4 separate regions of the Homo sapiens genome follow, and all the other regions are linked to region 4. Evidence: promoter capture Hi-C in human tissues and cell types (Jung and others, 2019). All regions are on one chromosome and are shown on one strand. Each heading gives the region's core, a stretch centred on a gene start or on the middle of the fragment in contact. The rest is flanking DNA. Distances are from core to core; before and after follow the strand shown. Region 1 overlaps TSHZ2 (teashirt zinc finger homeobox 2). Region 2 has its middle 3.4 kb from the start of ZNF217. Region 3 has its middle 250 kb from the start of DOK5. Region 4 holds the start of PFDN4 (prefoldin subunit 4).

Region 1 (2,953 bases), core at 18-2,517, 800 kb after region 4:
GGGTGGTGGTGCTGAGGCGTGTTTAATGAGGCTGTCCCTTAGTCAGGGGCTGAAGGTGGACCCTTGACATTTGGAAGCAGCGTGGAGAGTCACTGTGCACCCCCTGAGAGACGGAGGCCTCTGCCCGGAGCAGGGAACTTCATAAGTGGCGGCCCAGAGGGAACCGTCCACAGAACCCGTGAGTGCCCAGAAATCAAGAGTTAGCTTGTTTCCCTGGAGATGGATGGTGGTGATGGTTGTGGAACAGTTTGTATTCACTTAAAGCCACAGAACTGTACACTTAAAAATGGTTAAAAGCGTAAATTTTATCCTATGTGTAATTTACCACAATAAAAACAAAACCAACAATGGGTCAGCTTTGATCATTCTCCTGGAGCACACAGGCTGGGAACCAGTAGCCTTGCTCCAGGGCTGGGACCTTTCTTGTCCCATTCCCTTTTCTAACTATCCTGAAGCTATTGTCAGCAGGCTGGGGAGGAGACCAGAGGAGCAGCCATAGAGAAGAATCGAGCCCTTCTCCAATTTCCCACTGGGTGCCTCCAGCCCAGAGCAGGACCGGACGTGTTAACCTGACTTTTCTGACTCTGAATTGGATCTGTGAACTGAGTCTTAATGGGACCATGGGCTCGTCCCTGCTAAGAGTGAGCAGAAAAGTCATGAGTTGCCTGAAGTCTTATTCAAGGGAGGGGAATGTTTATTCCCTCTGAACAGAATTGAAAGAAAGAAAGAAAGAAAATGATGCTTTGATCACCCTTCAGGCAACATGCCTATTCAACATGTATGCATGTTTTAACATTTATTTAATGCTCATTATGTGTGGGACTCTTTGTTAAATGTTCTTGCTTGAATAGGCTAATTTAATTCCATCTATGAGATAGGTACTCTTTTTTTTATTTTATTTTATTTTTTGAGGCAGGGTCTTGCTCTGTCATCCTGGCTTAAGTGCAGTAGCTTGAACAGAGCTCACTGCAGCCTTGACTTCCTAGGCTGAAGATATCCTCTTGCCTCAGCCTCCCATGCAGCTGGGATTACATGCACGTGCCAACCTACCTGTCCAATTTTTAAGTTTTTTATAGAGACGAGGTCTCACTATGTTGCCCAGGTTGGTCTCAAACTCCTGGCCTTGAGCAGTCCTCCCAATTTAGCCTCTCGAAGTGCTGGGATTACAGATGTGAGCCATCATCCTCAGCCTTAGGTACTCTTAAGTTACTTTTTTTAAGGTGAGGAAACAGGTTCAGAGAGCTTATGTTAAGTGTCCTAGGGGCTCACAGTAGGAGTTGGGATTTGAGGCCAGGTCTGTCAGATTCTAAAGCTCTGCTCTTAACCACTGTTTCCTAATTGCCCCAGGCCAAGACATGGAGCTCACTTGGAGACCCAGAGTCCGCAGGCTGCCCTTAGATTTTAGGGAAGTGCTCACAGTTTTCTCCCTTTACATAAGTTCATGCCAAGTCTGGGATGAGTTGAGACTGGAGGCCCCTGGGACTCCACATCATGTCAGGAAGGTTGAGGGAGGCCAAGGCCATGGTCCTAGCTGTAGAAAAACTTCAGGTCAAACGTAGCCTCCACTCACTCTTCTGTGACATGAAGGCCCCACTTCCCGTCTTATAGAAGAAGATACCCCCAAAATGCTGAACATGGTTCACAGTTATGAACAGGAAAGTGTTTCATAAGTGGCATTTGCACTAATATTTGACTTGAAGGAGCAGGATCCAGGGAACATTGAATTACAGCTCATATTAAAGTGCTTTAAAAATGGTACCAATGGCCGGGCATGGTGGCTCATGCCTGTTATCCCAGCATTTTGGGAGGCCAAGGCAGGTGGATCACATGAGGTCAAAAGTTCTAGACCAGCCTGGCCAAAATGGTGAAACACCATCTCTACTAAAATACAAAAGTTACCCAGGCGTCCTGGTGCATGCCTGTAATCCCAGCTACTCAAAAGGCTGAGGCAGGAGAATCACTGGAACTTGGGAGGCAGAGGCTGCAGTGAGCCTAGATAGTTCCACTGCACTCCAACCTGGGTGACAGAGCGAGACTCCGTGCCAAAAAAAAAAAAAAGGTGCTTATGATCAATACCATGGATTTTACATTTTCATAAATATAACACAGCTAATAATAATAATAATAATAATAATAATAATAATAATAATGTGACGATAATAACAGAATTCCCAAACTTCTTCTTAGGTTGTTATGTATGCCAAGCCCAGAGAGTTATGTGTTTTGTAAGTTGATTTAATTCAAATGCTATGCCTCCTCCTCCACCGATTTTGTTATCGTACTGAGACCTTTTTCATAACTTACAGGTGCCTTGGCATAACTTACAGGTGCCTTGATTTGCTCTGTTTTTTCTTACATCAGTAACTTTTAAGTGAATTCTGCTCAGGGATGTGCCTGGAGAAAGCAAGTTTGATGAGGAAGCTGGTGGAGCTGGTGGTTTGAAGGCTGAGTGAAAGTAGGGGAGAGCCCATGGCCTGATCTATGTAAGTGGTAAGTCAGGGAGGGTAGCTGCGGTCAGCATGTCCCAGAGTCACCTTCATCCTGGGATGCGCCCTCTGATTCTCAGAGTGAACATTAAAAATGGCAGACAAAACCAGGCACGGTGGCTTACGCCTGTAATCCTAGCACTTTGGGAGGCCGAGGTGGGTGGATCACCTGAGGTCAGGAGTTCAAGACCAGCCTGGCCAACATGGTGAAACCCTGTCTCTACTAAAAATACAAAAATTAGCCAGGTGTGGTAGCATGCACCTGTAATCCCAGGTACTCAAGAGGCTGAGACAGAATAATCTCTTGAACCCAAGAGGCAGAGTTTGCAGTGAGCCGAGATAGCGCCACTGCACTCCAGTCTGGGCGACGGAACAAGACTCCGTCTCAAAAAAAAAAAAAAAAAAAAAAAAAAAAAAGAAAAGAAAACAAAGATGTGAATTCTGAAGACCTTTTTCAAGGCTTTGTC
Region 2 (2,809 bases), core at 171-2,670, 610 kb after region 4:
TAGAAAGGAAGAAGTTTGGAGAAACCTGCATATACAGTACTGTCTCTGTCTGGAGGAGAACACGTGATGGAGCTGACACCCTTTCTTCCCTTGCATTTGGGTCCCCATGCTCTCCTGCGGTCCCTCAGACCTCACTGCCTGCTCCCTCTCAGTCCCCTTTGCTCTCTTTCTCTTCTCCTTGACTTCCAGGCGCTGAACCACCCAAGGGCCCAATACTAGCACCTCTTTCGTGTGATTTTATCCAGTCTGATGGCTCAACATGCCATCAGTATTTGGAAAGCTCCTAAATACATAATTCTTACCGGGAACTCTCCCTTCCCAACACATTTCCAACAGCAGACTCCGCGTTCACGTGCATGGCACCTGCCAGTGGTACCTGGTGTAGGCTTTTGTTAGAGATAAAGATAAATGGACACAATTGAGACATATGAAGGTTTGCTGATGGATGCAAGGTCTGTGTAGGGTGGAGTAGATGGAGATGAAATATCCTGATTAGATTTTAAGATTCTGGCTTGAGATTATAATGATGATTGAATTTCAATTAATGTTAGTCACCCTCTTCTTCCCCTCCGTCCCTCATTCCAAAACTTCCTGTTTGGAATATCTAATGAAGGCAGAAAACTTTAAAGAGGCGTTCCCAGTGTTGTGTTTTGTGTGCAATTTTTAAGGGAGTTTTTACATTAACATTTTGAGTGAAGGTAATTTCAGAAAACTATCCAGAATATTAGAGGAGTCATGAGTTGTGTTTGCAGTGGGGGAGGGCACTCATCGAATAGGACAAATCCAGTTAAAAAATGCTGTCAACCTTATCAAGATTGACTAATCCAATCAAGTTGGGAGGGTACTGAAACCTTTATTTAAATTAAGTCTTATTCTTGACCCCTCCCTTTTTGCTGTGCTTATAAAAACCCGCAATCACATCTCTTCCAGTATTGTTTGGAGCCAGGTAGAGTGAAGTCCTACAGAGTTATCAGGTTCCAGACCCTGCCTTCTCTTCTGAAAGGTAAGTTCTGCTATATATATATATACATATATATAAATATATTTTTTTAATAGTATATTATTGTGATACTTTACAGAAGAGTGACTTGCATGGGATCAAGAAACTTAATAGAAAAGAGCAATGTGGTGCTCCTTCGAGCTGTTTGTTATTCCTACTTACTTGAGTGCATTTAGTCTTGTTCAAAGGGCTGTCCCTGTTTCCTTCTCAAATGTCCTTTGTAGTTTGCAGATGCTGGCAGGTTTGCCTAACTTTTTCATGTTCTTTTCCTGCTAACTCCTCACTGCAGTTTTTCAGGTTTTCCTGCTCTGAACACTGAATTCTTTTACGTCCCGTATCTATGTTGGCTCTGTTTCAGCTCCAGGGATTTACACACAGTTTCCAAATAGTTTTTCTATAATAGTTCCACAGTAAAATAACGTCTTGTGAAATAAGAAGATCCTACCTCATTCTGTTCTTCTAATTAAGGCTGAGTCTCAAAAGAGGATTCCAGTAAGTGTTAAATACAGCAAATCAGAAGTTTTTTTTTTTTTTTTCTTTTTTTTTTTTTGTTATGTTACTAGATCTGAGCATGCTGTGACTGGCAGGATCTGGATAGAAAATCAGATGTTGGCTAAACGAAGAGGCCTTATATCACTAGGATTAAATTAGAGATAATGGTGTGATTTTATAAGCGCATACTAGGAAATATGTCTTAAGGAGGGCCTGTTTGGATGATTGTGAAAAATGAGGTGTAGCTGATGTTTGCTGCATTGAAAGAAGGTGAAGTGGGGATTTTCTGCCCCTTCTCCAAGTACCATGTGCAGAGCTTCTCTTTTGGTTCCATTCTTTGTTTTTTTGCTGGCATCTAGTAGCACCTGACTCCTTTAGAGATGGCCTACGCAGGGAGTGATGGCGAAGCTGGATTTCTTGTGGGTGGAGCTAAGCATAGGAAGACCAACGTTCGATTTTCAATTTTCACTTTGTGCAGTATGAGTTCCTAGCTTTTATTACAAAACCAAATGCTTCCAGTGTTCTCCTGTTACTTTTGGAGTTTCCATATTTTAATTGTTTGAACTATACATGCTTTCCAAATAAATGGGAAGTATGAGTCTCACATTCTAAGGGAAGAATGTGTCTTAGGGAAAAGCCCTCCCAGGCGAATTCAGATCCCTCTATGTCCTTCTGAAAACACAGTATGTATTTGCAACCCAGCAGTCAGTCACTGGCAGAATTTTGCAACGATTTCCCAGTTTCGTTGGCACGACTCCAGGACAAGGTTCTTTGTAATTCTTTGCTCAAACATAAGGAGGATCACATATAAATAAAACTCTTAGCAGACAGATCAGTGAATTATAATCATCTTTCAGTTTTAAAAGCTACAACATAATAAGGCGCTCTCTTTTTTTTTTTTGAGAGAGGCGGCGAAACAGTAACAAATCATGATGCTATAATGTGAACAAAGTGGTAGCTTTGGAGGGCACAGGGGGAAAACAAGCACAACCGTTTTTGCTCAGAAAATAATTCAGTAGCAACAAGGTCTGAGAGCCAGGAATCTCCTTGTTCTTACTGAAACGATTATTTGTCAAAATATTTGATTGTTTCCCTATTCCCCCTGAAAAGTTTGGACTTTTCTTTTTGCTCGATTTTGACACTAGAATTTTTAACTATCAGTGCTATTGTGTTTACAGCATTCAAGGTCTCGGAGTTCAAAGGTTATCCATTAACATGTAGAATGAGGTTACACTTCAGGCTCAACCTGGTTCCACTTGGTCATAGTTTCTTTGTTGTGTAGCAAGGCTCATAGTCATTTGTTTTCATAAAGTTAAA
Region 3 (3,108 bases), core at 307-2,806, 520 kb before region 4:
AAGACCTAGTTCCTTGGCTGGGCACGGTTGCTCACACCTGTAATCCCAGCACTTTGGGAGGCTGAGGCAGGTGGGAGGCATGAGGTCAGGTGTTCAAGACCACTCTGGCCAAGATGGTGAAACCCCATCTCTACTAAAAATTAAAAAATTAGCCAGGTGTGGTGGAGGGTGCCTGTAATTCCAGCTACTTGGGAGGCTGAGGCAGAGAATTGCTTGAACCCAGGAGGCGGAGGTTGCAGTGAGCTGAGATTGTGCCACTGCACTCCATCCTGGGCAACAGAGCAAGACGCAAGACTCCATCTCAAAAAAAAAAAAAAAAAAAAAAAAGACCCGGTTCCTCCATTTTGCCAGTTTTAGAAATTTAAAAAAATAATTAAACCCCTTTGATCTTCAGTTTCTCAATTTACCAAATGAGAATCATCTTAGAAACTTTAAAAGATTGTGGAAAGCTAAATAAAATAGTAAGCTCTCCGAGGATAAAGACCATCCCTGTTTTATACACCTCTGTATTTTCAACACCTAAAGCAATGCCTGACACAAAACAAGCACTCAATAAATACTGGTTGGTATAACTATAATACATGTATAATCAAGCACAGTGTCTGATATACAATACTTAATTAAAATATGAAGAATTATTCCTAAACATTAATAGCAAGGGTGTTACTTTAAGTCAAATAATGGACATGAAAAATGGGAATATTTATCCGAAAGAGAAGCACTGCTTACATTCTATGCAAAATTTAATAATGGAAGGTATACAGATTCTAGGAATAAACAGAGAATACCAAAACCAATACTTGAACTCTCTCTATATACGGACATTGTTTAAATAGATATCACAAATAGCAAGAACCGTAATACAAAGCCCAAGTTATCAAATCTATCCAAAGGCTTAAAAGTTCTAAATTTTCCATTTTCTCCAAGAAATTATATACACACATAAAATTTGTTTATATACAAATGATACATATATACACACACATACATGTGTATACCTCCTCTTTCTTGTGTATACACACACATATAACAAACACACACTAAAAATTTACTTCTTTCAGGCCCTCAGAGAAAGACTGCCCACAGAGAAACTAGTTCATAGCTTAGGAGAAAAAAAAAGTGTGGACATGTAGGTCCAGGGAACAAGTACTTCTTGGGTGAGGTTTGGGAAGACTAAAAAAAGAATTATAAACGAAAGGAGAATAAAAGCTTGCACTTAAAAATCCTTTAGGAACTTGACTTCTATTTCCAAATAGTCTTATGTTGCTATGGTTTTCAAAAGTCACTATTTCAGAATCTGTCAGGTTTTAATTAATAAATTAACTGGACTCTTAGTAGAGGCCAATATTCAATGAAAATGAAAGAAAATTAGCAGAAAGAAAATTACCTTCACAGAAGGTATTTTCTAAAACCAAACCATCTGGATTTAAATTTCAGTTCTGACACTTATAATAAGTGAGACCGTAGGCAAAGCACTTATCCTAGCCTGGTCTCAGATATCTCATCTCTAAATGGGTTACTACCAATGGCTTGCAAGAAGGATAAAATGAGAGAATCCAGGTAAAGCCGTAAGCTTAGGAGTTGGCATGGAGGAAGACTCAACACATATTTGCTAGTGTTATTACTGTTATAATTATGATTATCATTATGAACCCCTTTCTTCTAATCTGATGAATCTGAAGTCTTACAGTATTAATTTAGTGTTTTCTAATGAGTAATGATAAAAAAAAAATTAAGCCTCTTGTAATTTAGACTATGTCTCCTCAGGTAACCAAAAAAAAAAATTTAAAAGTATCTGGAGAATTCATTTAAAGTAGCAAACAAATGAGACTCATTCAAGAGATCAGCTCTCTTTCTCCACATATAACATATCTAAATTATGTGGACACTAGAGAATTCCCACTAACTTCCCATTCATTCTTAATTTTGCCTTTGGAGTCAGACAAATTTAGATTGATTCCTGATTTCACCACTCTCTAGCCATGTTACTATGTGCAACTTCATTGACTTCTCTGAGCTTGAAGGCCCTCAACAGCAAAAATGGGATAATAGTAATGTTTTTCTTCATGTGCTCCAAGAAGCAGACCCTGAGCTACAGCTTTGAGTGCAGGTTATATGGAAAGAGTTGAGAGCACCAGGAGGAAGTGGAAAGGTGGTAGAGGGAAGGAAAGGCGGCCAGCAGACAGTGTGATGTTAACTCTGCTACCACAATGGGCAACGGAAGCTTAATCCCTTAAAGGAGAAATGGTGCTACTGCAAAACTCAAGCATGAGAATCACCCTATTCTCAGGAAATTTGTAACTCATGAAAGTCAATGGGTGAGGGCTGCTATCCAGGGCTATTAAATCCAAGCCACATCTGGCTGGCTGAACACTCGTGTGGGCAGCAAGGCTTCCTGTAGTTGGTTGTGAAGGTTAGGGATGGGTGAAGAACTCTCACACACAGAGAAGGCTAGAATATGCCAAAAGATCCAAGAGATACAGGCATGGAACTGAGAATGTGTGCGGTAAAAGGGAACAACCTAACGAGGCTTTAGGGAGGAACAAGTGAGATGTTGCATAAAAAGCATTTAGCATTGTAATTAGTAAAGTGCCTAGCACATAGTAAGCATTTAAAGAATATTAGCTTCATGAATGTGGCAAAAGAAGGAAATGTTGATCTAGGTTTTGGACCCCTTTTAACGTAGGCCAACGTAATTTATTTTCTGTGTGTCCAGTGTAAAATCATTCTCTTGTGAAACCTACAAAACCAATATTTTTAATAGAACACACCTGCTGGGTGCAGTGGCTTACACCTTTAGTCCCAGCTATTCAGGACGCGCAGACAGGAGGATCACTTGTTGAGGCTGCAGTGAGCTACAGTTGCACCACTGCACTCCAGCCTGGGTGACAGGGAAGCAATAGAGAGAGAGACCTCATTTCTAAAAACATTAAATAAATAAATAAATAAATAAATAGCACACACCTTTCTTAGCTAAAACATATCTCCTTTAACGTTTCATTATACATGTATGTCTAAATTTAATGTTTTAGTTTCAGTATACTGGGAGATCTAAGTTCGAATTATATTCAATTCAACACTGCACTTATCTGTTGAGCACCTACTATG
Region 4 (3,121 bases), core at 188-2,687:
CTAGACCCTACTCTGGGACACAGTAAGAATTTTTGGATGGCAGAATAGTAGGGTGAGCAACACATCCTGAGTTGGCTGGGGCTTTCCCATTTTTGGCAGTCCCTCAATTTCATATAAAAGGGGGCAATGGGTCACCCTACACCAGGCACAGATGGCATAGACTATGTGGTACTGGATAGGGGCAAAGCAAAGAAGTTCTAATGTGGTCTTAAAAGTGGAATGAACGCAAATCCCTCCAGCCAAGAGATTCTCATCAAAGACCCCCTATAGCAGTTTAAAACACAGACTCCGGAGTCAGAATGCCTGTGTTTAAATGCTAGCTTTGCCTCCGCGCCTGTTTTCTCATTGTTAAATAAGGATAAAAACAGTATCTCCCTCAAAGAACATAAAATAAACAATACACGCAAAACAACTTACAGCTGTACCTAGCACACTGTAAAGCTCCCCAAATTATCAGCCGTTATCTCCTTCCCCCTCTCCAATTTTCTTTTTCTTCTATCTGACTATCTTTACACATCTGGGAAGGCTCACGGGATTAAAAACCCCACATGGAAGTTTAGCCGGCTTAGTGGTTACACAGGCGTGCTTTGAGAAAAACAAAAACAAACCTGAGTTTGAACTCCAGCTCTGCTTCTTACTAGCTGAGTCACTTTAGGGCCTCTAACTGCTCTGTGTCTAAGTTTCTCTACCTGCAAAGTGGAGAGGAACCCATTGCACTTGCTGAGTTGCGGGGAGGATAACAGATAAACGGCCGGCTGCTGGGCCCGGCACATCTTCCATTCTCAATAAATACTGGTTTTAGCCTGAAGGACTCAGGGGCATCAAGCGTGGAAATGGGCAGCTCCAGGTTGGACACAGGGTCTCTGGGGCCTGCTAATCTGGGGATGCAGGAACCTGCTGTCCCCGTTATGAGCTGCGTAACCTCGGGCAGGTGACTCCCCATCTCTGGGCCTCAGTTTCCTCACCCGTAACCACGCTCCCAGCAGCAGCTACCCATAACCAGTGAGGCTAATGCGATCATGCCGGTGCAACGCCCGAGTCAAGGCCAACCACACTCAACGGGACCTTCGGCTTCCCACACCTCAGGGGCGAGGCCGGGGCTGCAGGTTCCTCAGACTCCCCGGGGGCACCCTCGGCATCGCGGGAGGCGGACCTGCGTCCTTCGAGGCTCCCGGCCCCAGCCCCGGCGCCCCGCCTCGGCTGGCCAGGTGCCTAGGAAAACGCTCAGGGCGCCAGGCGCGAGCAGGCCTTGCCGCGGGACCGCTCTCAGGGCCTCGGCCTCGGCCTCGGGTCCCACGCCGGGCTTCGGAGCTGCGCACCCCCAGCATCCCGCGCCCGGGCCCCAGCGGCCGAGATCCGGCGCCGCCCGAGCATCCAGAGCCCCGAGCTCCCCACTCACCGCCTTCTTCATGGTGGCCGCCATCTTGGGACTGGACTACCGCAGGCGGCGGGGAGGGCCGCAATGGCGCGCTTCGCCCCCGAGCGTTCTCTCGCTCCCGGTCGGCCTAGAACTCCCCGCAAAAATACAACACTGTCTCCACATTCCGTCCTCTTGGACTTTTGGCCAGTGAGTCCAAACGGCTGGGACGTAGGGAGGAAATGTGACCTGGAAGGACTTGGTACATGCCAATTAAAGGGACAGGCAACCCCCGTGGACCGACATAAACACGGGGGTGTGGCGAACGGCTCCGGCCGCGGGCAGCAGGGGGCGCGCCCAAGGCTCAGCGCGGCGGGGCCCAGCTGGGGCAGGATCAAAGGGCTCGGGGAATTTTTCTCCATCCGTCCCACAGACTTGCATTGAGAAAGCTAACCTACCTGTAAAACAGCTAGGAACGAATGGCCTTGGCAAATAGGGTGTGAGATTTATGTGCCATGATAATTCAGGTGGTGTAAAGGAGGTACTCCTATCTTTTAATGTAATTTTTTTTTAATTTAAATTCGGGGGGTATGTGTGCCGGTTTATTACATGGATATACTGCATGGTGCTAAGGTTTGGGTTTCTAATGATCCCGTTGCCCAAGTAGTGAACATAGTACCCCACAGGTAATTTTTCAACCCCTTTCCCCTGCCTCCTTCCCCGTTTTTGGAATCCGTAGCATTTATTGTTCCCACCTTTATGTCCACGAGTACCCAGTGTTTAGCTGTCACTCATAAGTGGGAACATGAGTGGTTGGTTTTCTGTTTCTGTGTTAATTCACTTAGGATAATGATGTCCAGCTGCATCCATGTTGCTGCAAAGGACATGATTTTGTTCTTTTTTATGGCTGCATAGTATTCCATGGTGTATATGGACCACATTTTCTTTATCCTATCCACCACTGATGGGCATCTGGGTTGATTCCATGCCTTTGCTGTTGTGACTAGGCAATCCTATTAATTAATTTACAGCAATATTACTGAACAATTACTGTATATTCTGACACTTGTGTCTCCCAATTAGTAATTTTTTTTTTTTTTTTTGCCTTAGGACCTCTTTATACTCCTGGAAATTACTGAGGACTCCAAAGAACTTTTGTTTATGTGGGTTATTTATCGATATTTGCTGTATTAGAAATTAAAGCAGAATTTTTAAAATGTATTTATTAATTCATTTAAAATAATATAAAACTCCATTCCATGGTAATAAAAATCACACTTTAAAAATAACTATATTTTCTAAGACAAAAATAAATTGAGAAGATTGTCATCATTTTACATTTTCACTGATCTCTTTAATATCAGGCTTAATGGAAGGTTACATTCTCATGTCTACTTCTGCATTCAGTCTCTCCAAATACACTGTTTAGTTGCCTAGTTGTAGGTATGAAAAACCCCAGCCTCATACAAATCATGTAGTTGGGAAAGGGAGGCCCTCATGGATCCCTGAAAAGGTCTCAGGGACCCCCGAGGTTCATGGGCCACAGCTTGAGAACTGCCCCTGACAAGCCTCCTCCTTTCTCAAAGTCCCAATTTCCTCTTTGGTTAAATGAGGGGAATGAGACCTTATAGCACCCTGTGCCCTCCCCACCGAACCACCTAGCCCGCCACGGGCATCGCCTGTTCTCCTGCCTATTCTGGGCTCTCCAGGCCCTTAGTATTGGGACTTTCCAGTGTGTAGCTCATATGTGCTCAAAAAAGTATT

Evidence for each region. The method cuts DNA at HindIII sites, captures the fragments that hold promoters and counts their contacts. A contact is called where the count stands out against the background at its distance.
Region 1: a contact is called between a fragment that was not itself captured here and the fragment with the promoter of PFDN4 in region 4, in 1 of the 25 tissues and cell types used here (lymphoblastoid cells).
Region 2: a fragment that was not itself captured here is called in contact with the fragment with the promoter of PFDN4 in region 4 in 1 of the 25 tissues and cell types used here (dorsolateral prefrontal cortex).
Region 3: a contact is called between a fragment that was not itself captured here and the fragment with the promoter of PFDN4 in region 4, in 2 of the 25 tissues and cell types used here (heart left ventricle and thymus).

The regions. Positions count from the first base shown.
Region 1 is chr20:53,409,785-53,412,737 of GRCh38, reverse strand. All of the region lies in intron 2 of TSHZ2 (teashirt zinc finger homeobox 2), which reads right to left. Among named protein-coding and RNA genes, the nearest start is that of TSHZ2-AS1, 93 kb to the left of the region's middle. The HindIII fragment of the contact is 9,977 bases long and covers 1-2,953 here.
Region 2 is chr20:53,595,825-53,598,633 of GRCh38, reverse strand. It overlaps a transcript of ZNF217 not described here. Among named protein-coding and RNA genes, the nearest start is that of ZNF217, 3.4 kb to the right of the region's middle. RefSeq lists enhancers at 1-334, 1,925-1,974. The HindIII fragment of the contact is 4,381 bases long and covers 1-2,809 here.
Region 3 is chr20:54,728,620-54,731,727 of GRCh38, reverse strand. No RefSeq gene overlaps it. Among named protein-coding and RNA genes, the nearest start is that of DOK5, 250 kb to the right of the region's middle. The HindIII fragment of the contact is 5,560 bases long and covers 1-3,108 here.
Region 4 is chr20:54,206,403-54,209,523 of GRCh38, reverse strand. It overlaps PFDN4 (prefoldin subunit 4), which reads right to left and starts at 1,437. Exons shown (of 4, transcript NM_002623.4): 1 at 1,400-1,437. The coding sequence starts at 1,423. LOC124904937 (a long non-coding RNA gene) reads left to right here and starts at 1,483. Exons shown (of 2, transcript XR_007067669.1): 1 at 1,483-1,567; 2 at 2,468-2,578. RefSeq lists enhancers at 406-1,222, 1,363-1,682, 1,223-2,040 and a silencer at 1,103-1,372. The HindIII fragment of the contact is 11,424 bases long and covers 1-3,121 here.